Linked DNA regions of Homo sapiens: all the other regions are linked to region 1. Evidence: promoter capture Hi-C in human tissues and cell types (Jung and others, 2019). All regions are on one chromosome and are shown on one strand. Each heading gives the region's core, a stretch centred on a gene start or on the middle of the fragment in contact. The rest is flanking DNA. Distances are from core to core; before and after follow the strand shown. Region 1 holds the start of FAM221A (family with sequence similarity 221 member A). Region 2 overlaps IGF2BP3 (insulin like growth factor 2 mRNA binding protein 3). Region 3 overlaps TRA2A (transformer 2 alpha homolog). Region 4 has its middle 15 kb from the start of TRA2A.

Region 1 (3,589 bases), core at 446-2,945:
TGTTTCCTTCTAAACTCATATTTTGACTCATCTTCCCACCCCACCTTCCCAGCCCACCTTTTCATATCTAGGTACTCAAGTCCTGTTTTCCCCACTTTTCTAAAATTCTGACGTCAGTAAAGGACCTGATAATCTCTTTCAGAGGGAAGTGTTGCAAGTTATTTACGATTGCAAAAATAATTTCCCAGCCGGGCGCGGTGGCCCAGGCCTGTAATCCCAACACTTTAGGAGGCCGAGGCAGGTGGATAGCTTGAGTCCAGGAGTTCAAGACCAGCCTGGGCAACGTGGTGAAATCCCGTCTCTACAGAAAATACAAAAATTAGCTGGCCGCCTGTAGTCCCAGCTACTCGGGAGGCTGAGGCAGGAGAATCACTTGAACCCAGGAAGCGGAGATTGCGGTGAGCCGAGATCGCGCCACTGCACTCCAGCCTGGGAAAGAGTCAGACCCCGTCTCAATAAAATAAATAACTAAATAATTTCTCAATAAAATAAATAACTACATACATAGGTCTGCCCTAACATGTTCGGAGCTAGGCAAGAGTCAACTGGAGGCCCACAATTCACATATCTAAATATCCAAGTTATCAGTCAACACCAGCTCCAGCAACTTGCTCCCAGGCAAAAGCTCTGGAGAACTGGAGGCTAAAGGAGCCGGCTCTGCTCTGGGAGAGGACGGGATGGTGGTTGTTCTGACCCTGAACCGGGCGTGGGAACTGACCCCATCAAGCTCCTAGCCCTTATTCTTCTGGCTCAGAATATCCAGGCAGTTCTAAGGGTTACCCAAAACTACACAAACAGGGCAGTCAGAGCAGGGGAGAACAGTCAGCTGGGGGGCCGTCTGCGCGCACACCTCTGGGTCATCTGGGCCACCCACGATGCCGCAGAGGAGCCCCTGTCGCTCGCTCCGGCCTCCCTGGCGGAGCCTGGAGCGTCTCCCCTCCGCTTGTACACACACATCCTCCCGCCCCAACTCCGCGTCCTCAGGCGGTCCTCTCCAGGACTTCCCATCCGCCCAGATTCCGGACGATCAAAAACCCCAGGAAGCGGAAAAAGAGCGCGTCGCTGCAGGTGCACCAGCCTCGGTCAGGATCCAGGACAATGAACCGCGTCCTCAGGCCAAAGGAGCGACTCCGTTTCCAGTTTCGGAAGGGGTTTCTCCAGAATACCAAACACCAGTCGGTGCCTTTCTCCTAAAACCAGCACCTCGGGGTGGGGAGCGCGTTCAGAAGTTCACGGTTGACTCAATTACTGGGTTAATTTGATGTATGCTAACTTCTATAGCCCCGAGTACTCGATGTGCCTGTTTTCAATGGCCATTTAAAAAACAGCTGGACCTCTGTATCAATCTAGAGTTAGTCATCCTTCTTGGAAGGGAGCAGAGGGGCCTCTTAAATGTTATTGGAAGACTCATCACTGCATAGAACCGCGTGGCCCTACAATATTTAATTAGGCAAAGACTAAACTGGAATTCATCTAGGCCTCCCCCAACAGCCCAGGCACAGATTCCGGGAACCCCCGCGGACGCCCGCCGGGCCCCTGCTCGCGCCCCCAGCCCAGGGATCCTGGCCCCTCGGAGCGGCGGGGGGGCAGGCCCGGAGCCACAGCCTCACCTCCGGTACTCCAGGTACTCGTCCACCGCCGCCGCGCCGCCGAGAGGCAACGTCAACCGCTCCATTGCCGGTGGGGAAGCCAAAGGCTTCCCTGCGGACCAGCTGACCTCGAAGCCCGACCCGCCCCGTTCCCTCCCGGTACCGCGCCCCCTCCCGCCCGCCTCCTGATTGGCCCGGCCTGAAGCCCGAGGAGGCCGCGCGCGGCAACTGCGCAGGACGCGCGCCCCTACTGGCTGCCGGCGCCAGGCACCAGAACCCGGATCTCCGCAAGCGCAGCCTCGCGCCACATGGAGTGCAGTTTGCCGCCCTCCACAAACCTTGCACCTATTCCCCTCTCCCTTCCCTGGACCGGCGAGTCTTCTTGTAAATTAACAAGTGACAAGGGAGTGCAGTGCCTTGCATATAACAGGCGCATAGAAAATGGCTTATTTCTTTGTACAGCTCTTTTCGCTTAATCCATCTCTTGAAATATAAGTAGTTTTGAGAAGGTTCTGCTTTAGTTTGAGGCCTGCCTCTCCTTAACTGTCGGCCTGTTTCCAGTATTGGCGTTTTCAAAAACTCTGATGTAACAATCAGTAGTCCTGGGTATCTGGGTTCACTTTGGGGGTTGCTAAAGCTACATGTTCTTCAAAGGAACCGAATAACTGATTTAAGGTGAAGCAAGTAAAAACAATTTAGGTGAAGTTTTGTTGTTGTTTTTTAACTTTTGGAAACACTCTGCAAAATATATTTAGAAGCTGAATTACCATGCGATTGGTAATTTGGCCATAATTTGACTTAGCACGTTGTGGAAAAGAATAGGAAATCTTCAGGCGAAGTCATTAAACTCTGAAGCTCCCAGGGGATCAGCTTTAGCGCCCTCTGTAAAGTATCTGGGAGGGAGAATATGCAAACAATAAGAAAAATAATTAAACTTCAGTACAGTACTTTAGTTTCAAAGTACTGTTCTACATATTTCAGGTCCATAAAACATTATGTAAACAAATTGTTTGGGTACCACCCACCTCCCTTCTCGGTACCCTTTCAACAAACCCCACCCTCTCCCCAAAGTCTTCCTCCTGTTCAGAGGCGTTCTTGACAGTCAGATAAATGAGTGATCCTGAAATCGGATTCATATTTTAGGAAACTGATCTCAGCTCAGTATTCTCTCCTATCACACGTGTGGTTTGCTGCTGTCCATTTTACCTCTTCCACCCGACACCTCCCAGATGGGGTCTTGCTCCGTCTCCAAGGCTGGAGTGCAGTGGCGGGATCTCGACTCACTGCAATCTCTGCCTCCTAGGTTCAAGCAATTCTCCTGCCTCAGCCTCCTGAGTAGCTGGGATTACAGGCACTAGCCACCACGCCTGGCTTTTGTGTGTGTGTGTGTGTGTGTATTTTTAGTAGAGACAGGGTTTCACCATGTTGGCCAGGCTGGTCTTGATCTCCTGACCTCGTGATTTGCCCGCCTCAGCCTCCCAAAGTGCTGGGATTACAGGCGTGAGCCACCACGCCCAGCCCCATTCTACCTCTATGAGAGCCTAGTCTTGCTTTTAGGCAGCAACTGAACTAACAAAGAAAAATAGAAGAAAATGCCAGGCTCTGCAGGCTTACAGAAAAGTGGCAGGGGAATGTCTGTGTAGGCAAGTACAATTTAAAAATCTAGAGGGAAATGGTTAAAATAGATTTAGCCCAATTGTGGACTCTTCCAGGAAGATGCTGGAGCAGTAAACTCTTCTGGCCAAAGAAGTCAACAAAAATATTGAGCGTGACGAATAAGAGTATGGAACAAACTAGAAAATGTTATCCTGACCTTACATAAAGCTGACAGATTTGCAAATTAAAATACTGTATATGGTACTCACCTCTGCTTTAATAAAAAGGTATAATCAAACTATAACTTCCTCCCAATGTGTAGCTAAATTGATCTAGGAAGTAGGGTGGACAGAGGAACATGTAAATTGCCTAGGCAAGTGTTAGGCATTTTATTTATTCAATCC
Region 2 (3,589 bases), core at 723-3,222, 250 kb after region 1:
CGAGACCATCCTGGCCAACATGGTGAAACCTCATCTTTACTAAAAATACAAAAAAATTAGCCGGGCGTGGTGGTGGGCGCCTGTAATCCCAGCTACTCGGGAGGCTGAAGCAGGAGAATCGCTTGAACCCAGGAGGCGGAGGTTGTGGTGAGCTGTGAGATCATGCCCCTGCACTCCAGCCTGGGCGACAGAGCGAGACTCCGTCTCAAAGAAAAGAAAAAAAAAAAAACTTTAGATGTTTGTGCTGGAGAGTTTCCCAGGTCTGGATGTTGCTGACAGTGTTTCTGTGGTGTATTTTTATATGTAATTCTGTTCTCAGAAGACATGATAGGGCTAGAGACTTCATCATTTTCAGGATTTTTTTTTTTTTTTTTTTTTTTTTTTTTGAGACAGAGTCTTGCTCTGTCGCCTGGGCTGGAGTGCAATGGTGCGATCTTTGTTCACTGCAACCTCCGCCTCCCGGGTTCAAGCGATTCTCCTGCCTCAGCCTCCTGAGTAGCTGGGACTACACGTACCCGCCACCACACCTGGCTAATTTTTGTACTTTTAGTAGAGATGGGGTTTCACCATGTTAGCCAGGATGGTCTCATCTCCTGACCTCGTGATCCACCTGCCTCGGCCTCTCAAAGTGCTAGGATTACAGGCAGGAGCCACCACGCCTGGCCCATTTTCAGGATTTTTGTGTTTAATTGGCAAATATGTCATAGGTGAGAAAAGGGAAAATTTTAATACTTTGGCCAAGGTTTTATTCATTCAAGGAAATGATGGATTAATGTGACTGAGTTCAAATTTGGGAAAATACTGATGTAGTTGGGGAAGCATGTTGCACTTAAGTGAAAGTTTTTTTTTAACTTGTTTGTCCTTAAGTGTGGTAAACATACCTGTTCTATCTCACTAGAAGGAAAAAGAGCTTAGTAATCAGGAACAATTTGCTGCTATTGGAGACTGGTAACGTAGCATTGCATTTGCATTGTGTTTTCTGCTAGGAGAAGGGTTATCTACAAAGCCTAGTGAAATTATATCTTGGGAGAAAAGAAAGAGTTGAGTTACCTAGGATGAGGAATGTCAGGCAGAAATATTTAGATCAAACTTGTCAACCTTTTGTTTTGTTGATACATTGGAGTTCTCAGAGTGCGTGAAACTGAGAATTCTCATACTGAGTTTCTTGAACACAATTATTTGCTTATTTTCTTTGCCTACTTGTAGAAAACATTAAAAATGGAAATATAAACAAGTCTGGCTGTGTAAGTCTACCTCTGGGAAACAGTCTTCAAGCTTTGGGGTGGTGAGATTATTATAGTTTCTAAAGTTGATGAGAAGGTGGTATAATTTGATAATGATCAACTGCAACTTTCCCACGAACAAAAACAAACCCAAGGATCTGCCTTGTCTAAGAACCACATCCACTTAGCAGTAATACGAAATAAAAACTGTTAATGTAGACATACCCCGTATTCAAAATACAGTGGTTTTAAAAGTTTAGTAATCTTAAAACACCTCTTCTTGCAGGTACAGTTTTAGTGATGGTTACTTTTATGTGGAAAATACGTATTCCATATAAAACTTTTTCTTTTTTTTTTTTTTTTTAATTTTAATTTTTCCAGACAGAGTCTCACTCTGTCTCCCAGGCTGGAGTGCAGTGGCACAATCTTGTCTCACTGTAACCTCTGCCTTCCAGGTTTAAGCGATTCTCTTGCCCCAGCCTCCCAAGTAGCTGGGATTACAGGCACACGCCTCCGTGATGCCCGGCTAATTTTTGTATTTTTAGCAGAGATGGGCTTTCGCCATGTTGGCCAGACTGGTCTTGAACTCTTGATCTCAGATGATCCTCCCGCCTCGGCCTCCCAAAGTGCTGGGTTTATAGGCATAAGCCACTGTGCCCGGCCTAAAACTTTTTCTTGATTGTTCTTCAAATTCCCTTGACAAACAAATTAAATTTAATCAATTAGTTTTAGATAAGCTCTGTTCAATAGAAATACATGAACTAAATATATATGATTTTAACTTTTTAGTAGCCACATTAAGTAAAACAAAGGCCCAGTGTGGTGATGTGTGCCTGTATCCTAGCTGACTGGGAGGCTGAGGTGGGAGAATTGCTTGAGCCCAAGAGGTTGAGGCTGCAGTGAGCTATGGTCGTGCCACTACAGTTTGGGCGAGAGAGCAAAAACCCTGTCTCAAAAAAAAAAAAAAAATTAGTTATTATATACAACCTAATATATCTAAAATGTAACAGTATAATAAATTGTTGAGAAATTTTGCTTTTTTTGGTATTGAATCTTCAACATCTGTATGTATTTTATCCTTACAGAACGATTCAATTCAGACTAGCCACATTTCAAGTAGTTAGACACATGTGGCTAGTGGCTTCTTTATTGGACAGAGCAGCTTAAGATGTACGGTTTCTAAAAATCACTGTTTAAAAATATCTTGTTGCTGGGAAAAAAATATAATGATATTTATAAAACTAGTTTTAGCTATGGAAAAGTATGGGAATAATTAATTTTCAGTGCTACTCAAGCATGTTAGAGGTTTTATATCCAAGTTCTTTATTCCTTTCTTACCACTCTAATTTTTTAGGAAGATAAGTACAATTTACTATATTGTGTTAATATTAAGACTTTTGAAAGAGCTATGCTTTTAGGTCATACAGGCAGTGAGGCTTTTATTTAAATAGTAACTGTTCAACTGCGTGTGTTTCTGTGGTTGTAATACTGGTGGTGACTTTTTAGTTTAAAGGCACATATACAGGCTGGGCGCAGTGGCTCATGCCTGTAATCCTAGCAGTTTGGTAGGCCGAGGCAAGTGGATTGCTTGAGCCCAGGACCAGTCTGGGCAACGTGGTGAAACCACAGCTTATGAAAAATACAAAAATTAGCTGGGTGCGGTAGCGCATGCCTGTAGTCCCAGCTACTTGAGGGGCTGAGGCAGGAGGATCTCATGAACCTCGGAGGTTGAGGCTGCAATGGGCAGAGATCATGCCGTTTGCACTCCAGTCTGAGCAACAGAGCAAGACCCTCTCTCCACCAAAAAAAAAAAAAAATTAAAAAATGAAGCACATTTACTTAGTTAAAATCTCAGTATGAAGACTATAAAAATCTTTGGTTATTTAGGGATCAAGGATTAGTTTGTGCCCTGTTTTTTTTGTTTGTTTGTTTTTTTCCTGTTTGACATTCTACATTAAGATGTGCGTGCCCTTCTAGTAGTCACATTAAGAAGTAAAACAAAGGCCCAGTGTGATGATGTGTGCCTGTATCAATTGTCTTTCGAACAGTGTTAGGTTTTCCTAACTTGCACATGTCCTAAGGAAGTATAAAAACTTTGACTATGTTTCTTCAAGGAACATTTAATCTTCTAAAAGAAAGACATAGCAGTGTGTAAATGCAAGCAAACAATAGTAGTAAGAGAGTACGTAGAAAAACATTCAGTCTTTTTTGGACTCTTCTAGTGCATACTCATGGCGTCAGTCAAGTTTTCATCCATGCACGTCTGGCTGTCAGACTCTGTTCTACATAGATGGAGATAACGTGTGCAAATGTAAAAGATAAAATATACCTCTGTTTTAGTTAACGGGACTAAAACATAGCTGTTA
Region 3 (3,589 bases), core at 350-2,849, 150 kb after region 1:
AGAACTTGACTGGCAGAAAACTTTCTTTGATAGTATCAGTGGGTGCTCACCCATTAGATAACTAAAAGATGTGTATTCACGTGCTAATGAATTAAAACTGATTGCTATTTGTTCATATGTCCTCACAAATTTAGCAAGACAGGCATGGAGGTGAAAAAAATAGTAACAACTAGATGAGGGAAAGATTGTATACACTGAAGAAAAGTTGAGAGGAGAATACTAAAGGGAAATATGGTTTCCCTTCCCTCCTTTTAAGTTACTTATATATATAGTTATATATAATCCTTACTGTCCCATGACTTTCACCAAAGATGGAGTGACTAGGCCTGACTGATATGTAGAAGAAAAGTTGTGATCTTTCCTTGAAACCAGGACCCTATCATCTGACTTACCAAGATTCATAAATACTGTATAACTCCAGAAGATTAGAACATAATGTTAAATCACATTAGTCCTTACAAACTTGTTTTTTCTACCTTTGAAATTGCCACTTATACATTAGTTTTTTGAACATTACAATTGATCAGGATATATAAGCTATGAGACTTATGAACCACGTTTAAAATTTGTACAAAAGATTATAAATTTTACAGGTGATTTCACAATTATGGCATGAGTTTAAATTTGATTATATGTGGGTGTCAGTTACTAAATCATGTATTTATGATAAGACTTCTAAATTTTAGAGAATAAGGAAACATACAGAATTAGAATATGTTTGAGTCTTTGCAGATAAAGACCACATTGACTTCAGAATGCAGCATATAGGCATGCTGCATTTAAAAGAAGGGAAATTATTATTTCAATTTAATATGAGCAGTCGCTATCTTCTTTTTAAGGGATTTGTTCTAATAGCAGTTACGGTTTAAGAAGATAATGGAAGTGTTGCTTTAACTTCATAGGGGTCTGTAAGAGTATTCTCCCATACTCAAGGGGAAGGAAGCAGAACTGTTGTTCTTTCTATAGGCTGAGGTTGAGTAAATACAGGTTTTTTACAACTCCTAAAGAAGTTCTTTAGTAAGTAGTAAAATGAATATTGTAAGGTATTTGAATAATTTCGGTACATTTCCCTTCTTTTTGGGTACTTGTGATTTTCCTCAATGCACTAGTGTGTATCTATGGAAATAGAGCGCCAGTGTCATAAAGTAGCAGGAAAATACATTTTTAGTAAGTCTGTTTTACAAGCTTATACTCATAGACTTGGACTTGAGTAAATTTGGCCCTATTAAATGGCATAGAATTTGCCTGGCCTTAATGTTAGAGTAAGTTACAGTATAGCATTTAATAGTTTATTTATTTTAATGGATAGCACATATATATATTGTGTTGGAATTTCTTTTTATAGTATGACACAGGCTATATTAAAAGACTGCAGTTATTGCTTGCTGTAGGAATTGTTCATGTTCCGCAACATTGTGTACATGTATATAATAACCCTTTTCCTGATTAAAAGAATAGTACATGGTTATTGTGGTTATTCACAGTGTGTAAAATACAACTCTATTTTAACACAGAAAGACAATTCTTAACCAGCTTGTATTGGTTACACTATAACACTTTCTTAGTGTTTTAGTTAGTTCCCTCCTTTTAATTTTTGGCCATTTCCTTCAACCAACAGCAGGGTCATCTTGATAATAAAGAATAGTTTAAACAAGCAGGCCGGGTGCAGTGGCTCATGCCTGTAATCCCAGCACTTTGCGAGGCTGAGGCGGGTGGATCACTTGAGGTCAGGAGTTCGAGGCCAGCCTGGCCAATGTGGTGAAACCCCGTCTCTACTAAAATAAAATACAAAAGTTAGCCAGGTGCGATGGCGGGTGCCTGTAATCCCAGCTACCCAGGAAGCTGAGGCAGAATTGCTTGAACCCAGGAGTTGGAGGTTGCAATGAGAAGATTGTGCCACTGCACTCCAGCCTGGGTGACAGAAAAACCAAACAAGCAAATAAACATCAAAACAAAAACCTGTTAAAGCAGGTTGTGCTGTGAGAAGAACTTTTCTGCCTGGCTTCTGCTTTATAGCCTATAAGATAGACTGGAGGCCTATTTAAGACTTTTGTTAAAATTCATGATACGAGTTGAGTTATTAATCTGCCCATTTAAACCGGGCAGTGTATTTTTAATGGTTATTGGATGCAGGAGCCAGATTACTGAGGAAATGGTAGGATTCCTTGACTGGACAGCTTTAAGAACAAGTAGTCTAGTGAAACAGGGCAGATACCACCCATTCCCAGCAATCTTTTTTGTTTGCAATTTCAATTCATTTTCCAAATTGTGGATAGTTTTATGAATTTCTTTGAGAAAAAGTTGAAATTATTTCATAATGAAGACGAGTCAGAGAGAAAAGGATTAGCCTAGCATTTGTCCTCTTTATATAAAGGACTTCTTATAGCCTGATTCCTAATGCAGAGTTCAGTGAAAGTGACATTTATTTGGTAACAGCTTTTGAGAAATGTTACTTTATTTCTAAATAATTATATACTTGGCAGTTTATTCTTCCAGTTAAGTTTACTAATAGTTACTGATTTGTTAATATAAGTTTGTAAGTTGTTTTTGAAAGTTAAAATGAAGCTGGGTGTGGTGGCTCACACCTGTAATCCCAGCGCTTTGGGAGGCCAAGGCGGGCAGATCAAGGAGTCAGGAGATGGAGACCAGCCTGGCCAACATAGGGAAACCCTATCTCTACTAAAAACACAAAAATTAGCTGGGTGTGATGGCGTGCACCTGTAAGCTGAGCTACTCAGGAGGCTAAGGCAGGAGAATCGCTTGAATCCGGGAGGCGGAGGTTGCAGTGAGCTGAGATCAGGTGCCACTGTACTCCAGCCTGAGCTACAGAGCAAGACTCCATCTCAAAAAAAAAAAAAATAGTTAAAATCATAGTGACAACTTTGTAGCTAGGAGTTAGAGACAGCTAAGAGGACTGTTTTTAGCTTAGATGTTTCCATGAAGAAATTTGTGCAGACTGAGATTTCCTCTGAGATAAAAAGAAAGAAGGGCAGACAACAAAGGAGGTTAGGTATTTGTGACACCTTTGATAATAAAAAGCAAAGCTTCTTTTAAAATAAATCTGATGTTGGCCGGGCGCGGTGGCTCACACCTGTAATCCCAGCACTTTGGGAGGCTGAGGCGGGCAGATCACTAGAGGTCAGGAGTTTGAGACCAGCCTGGCCAACATGGGAAAACCCCATCTCTATTAAAAATACAAAAATTAGCCAGGCAAGGTGGTGCATGCCTGTAATCCCAGCTGCTCAGGAGGCTGAGGCAGGAGAATCACTTGAACCCAGGAGGTGGAGGTTGCAGTGAGCCTAGATCGCACCATTACACTCCAGCCTGGGTGACAGAATGAGACTCCTCCTTCTTAAAATAAATAAGCTAACATCTCTTAAAAAGACATTCTATCATACCATAATGCTTTGTTGCTACTCCAAAACTGGGATTTAAAATTGGAATTTTAAGATGTTACTGAATTATCTTGTTTACTTTAATAAAAGGTTTTTATTTCCATCCTAGTAAAATTAAAGAATTGTAGTGTTTTACAGAGCAAAGCCTCCTGTGTATGTTTGAGAAGGACTGTAGCAGCGTTCGTAGATAATAA
Region 4 (3,589 bases), core at 395-2,894, 130 kb after region 1:
ATCAAAGTGCGTCCCTGCCCAAGAAGGCAGGCAAACACAATTTAGGTAGCCCTTAAATTTTTATTATGTAATATTAAAGGAAGTTAGGGTTACTAATTGTTCCAAAATGTATATTTTTCCACCTTGTATATAACTTTGATATTTTAGATGAAATTCCTAAAAACATAGCCTTATTTCGATGCCATAGATAAGTCCTTTATAACATTTTTTAATTTCAATAGCTTTAGGGGTACAAGTGGTTTCTGGTTACATGGATTAATTGTGGAATGGTGAAGTCTAGATGTTTAGTGCACAGGTCACCTGAATAGTGTACATTGTACCGAACAGATAGTTTTTCATCCCTCACGTGCCTTCAACGTCCCCCATCTGTCTCCAGTGTCCATCTGTATGATGCCATAGATAAATATTGCGATTAAAAATATGTGCTGCTGGCCGGGTGCAGTGGCTCATGCCTGTAATCCCAGCACTTTGGGAGGCTGAGATGGGTGGATCACCTAAGTTAAGGAGTTCAAGACCAGCCTGGCTAACATGGTGAAACCCAGTCTTTACTAAAAATACAAAAATTAGCCAGGCATGGTGGCAGGCACCTGTAATCCCAGCTACTCTGGAGGCTGAAGCAGGAGAATCGCTTGAACCCAGGAGGCAGAGGTTGCAGTGAGCTGAGATTGCACCAGTGCACTCCAGCCTGGGCAACAGAACAAGACTCTGTTTCAAAAAAAAAAAAAAAATGTTGCTATATTGTATGATTCCATTTACCTGAAATCCCCAGAACAGGCAATCCATAGAGACATTAAGTAGATTAGTACTTGTCAGAAGATGGGGGGAGGCTGGCAAGTGACTGAATGGGTATAAGGTTTCCTTTTGGTTTAATGTAAATATTCCAGAATTAGGTCATGGTGATGGTAGCACAACATTGTGAATATATTATACTAAAACGCACTGTATTTTACACTTTAAAATGGTTTAAGGTAACCCACTGATTTTTACACTTTAAAATGGTTTAAGGGCTGGCACAGTGACTCCAGCCTGCAATCCCAGCAGTTTGGGAGGCCAAGGCAGGCAGATTGCTTGGGCTCAGGAGTTGGAGACCAGCCTTGGCAACATGGCAAGGCCCCATCACTACAGAAAATACAAAAATTAGCCAGGCATGGTAGCACACACCTGTAGTCCCAGATAATCAGGAGGCTGAGGTGGGAGGATTGCTTGAACCCAGGAGGCGGAGGTTGCGGTGAGCCGAGATCGTGCCACTGTACTCCAGCCTGGGTGATGGAGTCAGATCATGTCAAAAAAGAAAGAAAAGAAAAGAAAAGGCAAGAAGGAAGGAAGGAAGGAAGGAAAGGAGGGAGGGAGGGAGGAAGGAAGGGAGGGAAGGAGGGAAAGACAAAGAAAAGAAAGAAAGAAAGAAAGAGAGAAAGAGAGAGAGAGAAAGAAAGAAAAGGAAGCAAGCAAGCAGGCAGAAAGCAAGGAAGCAGACAGGCTTAAAAGTGATTTGTATGTTATATGAGTTTTTTGTTTTGTTTTGCTTTTTGTCTTTTTGTTTGTTGTTTTGTTTTGTTTTTGTTTTTTGTTTTTTTGAGACATGGTCTCGCTCTCGCCCAGGCTGGAATGCAGTGGCACAGCTCACTGCAGCCTCGACCTCCTGAGCTCAAGTGATCCTCCCACCTCAGCCTCCCAAGTAGCTGGGACCATAGGTGCTCACCACCACGCGTAGATTTTTTTTTTTTTGAGACAAGGTCTCCCCATGTTGCCCAGGCTCCAGGGCTCAAGCGATTCTCCTCTCTCAGGCTTCCAAGGTGCTGGGATTACAGGCGTGAGCCACTGCCCCCTGCCTTGTGATTTTTATTATCTGTTATGCGCCAATATTTTAAATTTAGTATTGTCAAATGTAAGGGAAAATAGAAAGTATCAACTTATATAAATCTGCATAATAATGATGTTAAAAAATGACAAGTTGGCCAAAAGGAGAAATAAAGTGGAAAATGTGTAAGTTTGGGGCACCCATCTGCATCTGGAGACCTCTGTAGCCTGGATCACCGACCTTAAATTTCCAGCATGCTCATACTGCCACCTGGTGGCTGTAGACATTCAAAACAGGCAGCGTCCTGCATTTAGGACTTGTTTCCGTTTCTCACCAATTTCTTTTTCTCTCCAAGCTTGCCCTCTTCTGGTTACAAATGATATGCAAAATAAATTCCTTGACAAGGTTTGAAAACCCAAGTGGTTCAGTGTAGTAAGATCTACTAAGCTACCAAACAGCAACATAGGCTACTCCGCGCACACCGCGTATGGGGTAGCCCTGCTCCGCAAGGGACAGCAAAAAAATAAAAACCAAAAACAGAAACAAAAAGAAAAATAACCTAGCAATATTTTAAATTAAATAAGTGGCAAAGGTAGAATTTCAGGCACACCATTCATTTCTTTTTCTTTCTTTCTTTCTTTTTTTATTTTGAGACGGAGTGTCACTCTGTTGCCCAGGTTGGCGTGCAGTGGCACAATTTCTGCTCACTGCAACCCCCACCTCCGAGGTTCAGGTGATTCTCCTGCCTCAGCCTCCCAAGCATCTGGGATTACAGGTGTGAGCCACCACACCCAGCTAATTTTTGTATTTTTATTAGAGATGGGGTTTCCCCATGTTGGCCAGGCTGGTCTCAAACCCCTGACCTCAAGTGATCCGCCCACCTCGGCCTCCCAAAGTGCTGGGATTACAGGTGTGAGCCACTGTCCTGGGCCTGTTTTTTCAAATAAATATGAGCCTGCTTTGTGCCAGGCACTGTTCCAAATCCTAGGAATATAGCAGAAAATAAAACCAATAAAAATCTTTGCCTTCATGGAGCTTACATTCTTGCCGTGTAGGGCAGAACAGTAAAAATGAATGAACCAGCCAACACCTTGGCTCATACCTGTAGTCCTAGCACTTTGAGAGGCCAAGGCGGGCGGATCACCTGAGGTCAGGAGTTCCAGACCAGCCTGGCCAACATGGCGAAACTGCTTCTCTACTAAAAATACAAAAATTAGCCAGGCATGGTGGTGCAGGCCTATAGTCCCAGCCACTCAGGAGGCTGAGGTGGGAAGATCACTTGAATCTGGGAGGCAGAGGCTGCAATGAACTGAGATCATGCCACTGCACTCCAGCCTGGGCAACAGAGTGAGACTCTGTCTCAAAAACAAAACAAAACAAAACAAAAAAACAGTAATCCAGAGTTACACATATCAACATGAATGCATCTCATAACCTAAATGCTGTGGAGGGAAAGTTATATCAGAAAACATACTATAGTAAACCAGGTATATAAAATGTTTAAATGTGCAAAGCAACATTTTATATATGTGTACATATATACATACATATATATACATACACACACATACATAGATTGCTTAAGGTATATCCCATGAATACACAAGAGTTAAATGTTTAACAACTAGCTTTCTGAAAGAAAGAGGAAAAGAACACTAATTTGTAGATTTGTTGATTTTCATAGTATAAATACTATGCAGTTGATTGATGGATTGGTTGTCCTAATGACATCATCAGACATTATCACTCACTACCTAATGAGATCAAAAATTTGTTGAAATAAACCTACTA

Evidence for each region. The method cuts DNA at HindIII sites, captures the fragments that hold promoters and counts their contacts. A contact is called where the count stands out against the background at its distance.
Region 2: a fragment that was not itself captured here is called in contact with the fragment with the promoter of FAM221A in region 1 in 1 of the 25 tissues and cell types used here (thymus).
Region 3: a contact is called between a fragment that was not itself captured here and the fragment with the promoter of FAM221A in region 1, in 2 of the 25 tissues and cell types used here (dorsolateral prefrontal cortex and spleen).
Region 4: a contact is called between a fragment that was not itself captured here and the fragment with the promoter of FAM221A in region 1, in 5 of the 25 tissues and cell types used here (aorta, bladder, hippocampus and 2 more).

The regions. Positions count from the first base shown.
Region 1 is chr7:23,678,305-23,681,893 of GRCh38, reverse strand. It overlaps FAM221A (family with sequence similarity 221 member A), which reads right to left and starts at 1,695. Exons shown (of 7, transcript NM_199136.5): 1 at 1,611-1,695. The coding sequence starts at 1,675. RefSeq lists an enhancer at 892-1,141 and a silencer at 1,472-1,761. The HindIII fragment of the contact is 14,044 bases long and covers 1-3,589 here.
Region 2 is chr7:23,432,090-23,435,678 of GRCh38, reverse strand. All of the region lies in intron 2 of IGF2BP3 (insulin like growth factor 2 mRNA binding protein 3), which reads left to right. Among named protein-coding and RNA genes, the nearest start is that of IGF2BP3, 37 kb to the left of the region's middle. RefSeq lists an enhancer at 1-363. The HindIII fragment of the contact is 3,324 bases long and covers 311-3,589 here.
Region 3 is chr7:23,523,964-23,527,552 of GRCh38, reverse strand. The region is part of intron 1 of TRA2A (transformer 2 alpha homolog); the gene reads left to right. Among named protein-coding and RNA genes, the nearest start is that of TRA2A, 6.2 kb to the left of the region's middle. The HindIII fragment of the contact is 5,751 bases long and covers 1-3,589 here.
Region 4 is chr7:23,545,658-23,549,246 of GRCh38, reverse strand. No RefSeq gene overlaps it. Among named protein-coding and RNA genes, the nearest start is that of TRA2A, 15 kb to the right of the region's middle. The HindIII fragment of the contact is 8,662 bases long and covers 1-3,589 here.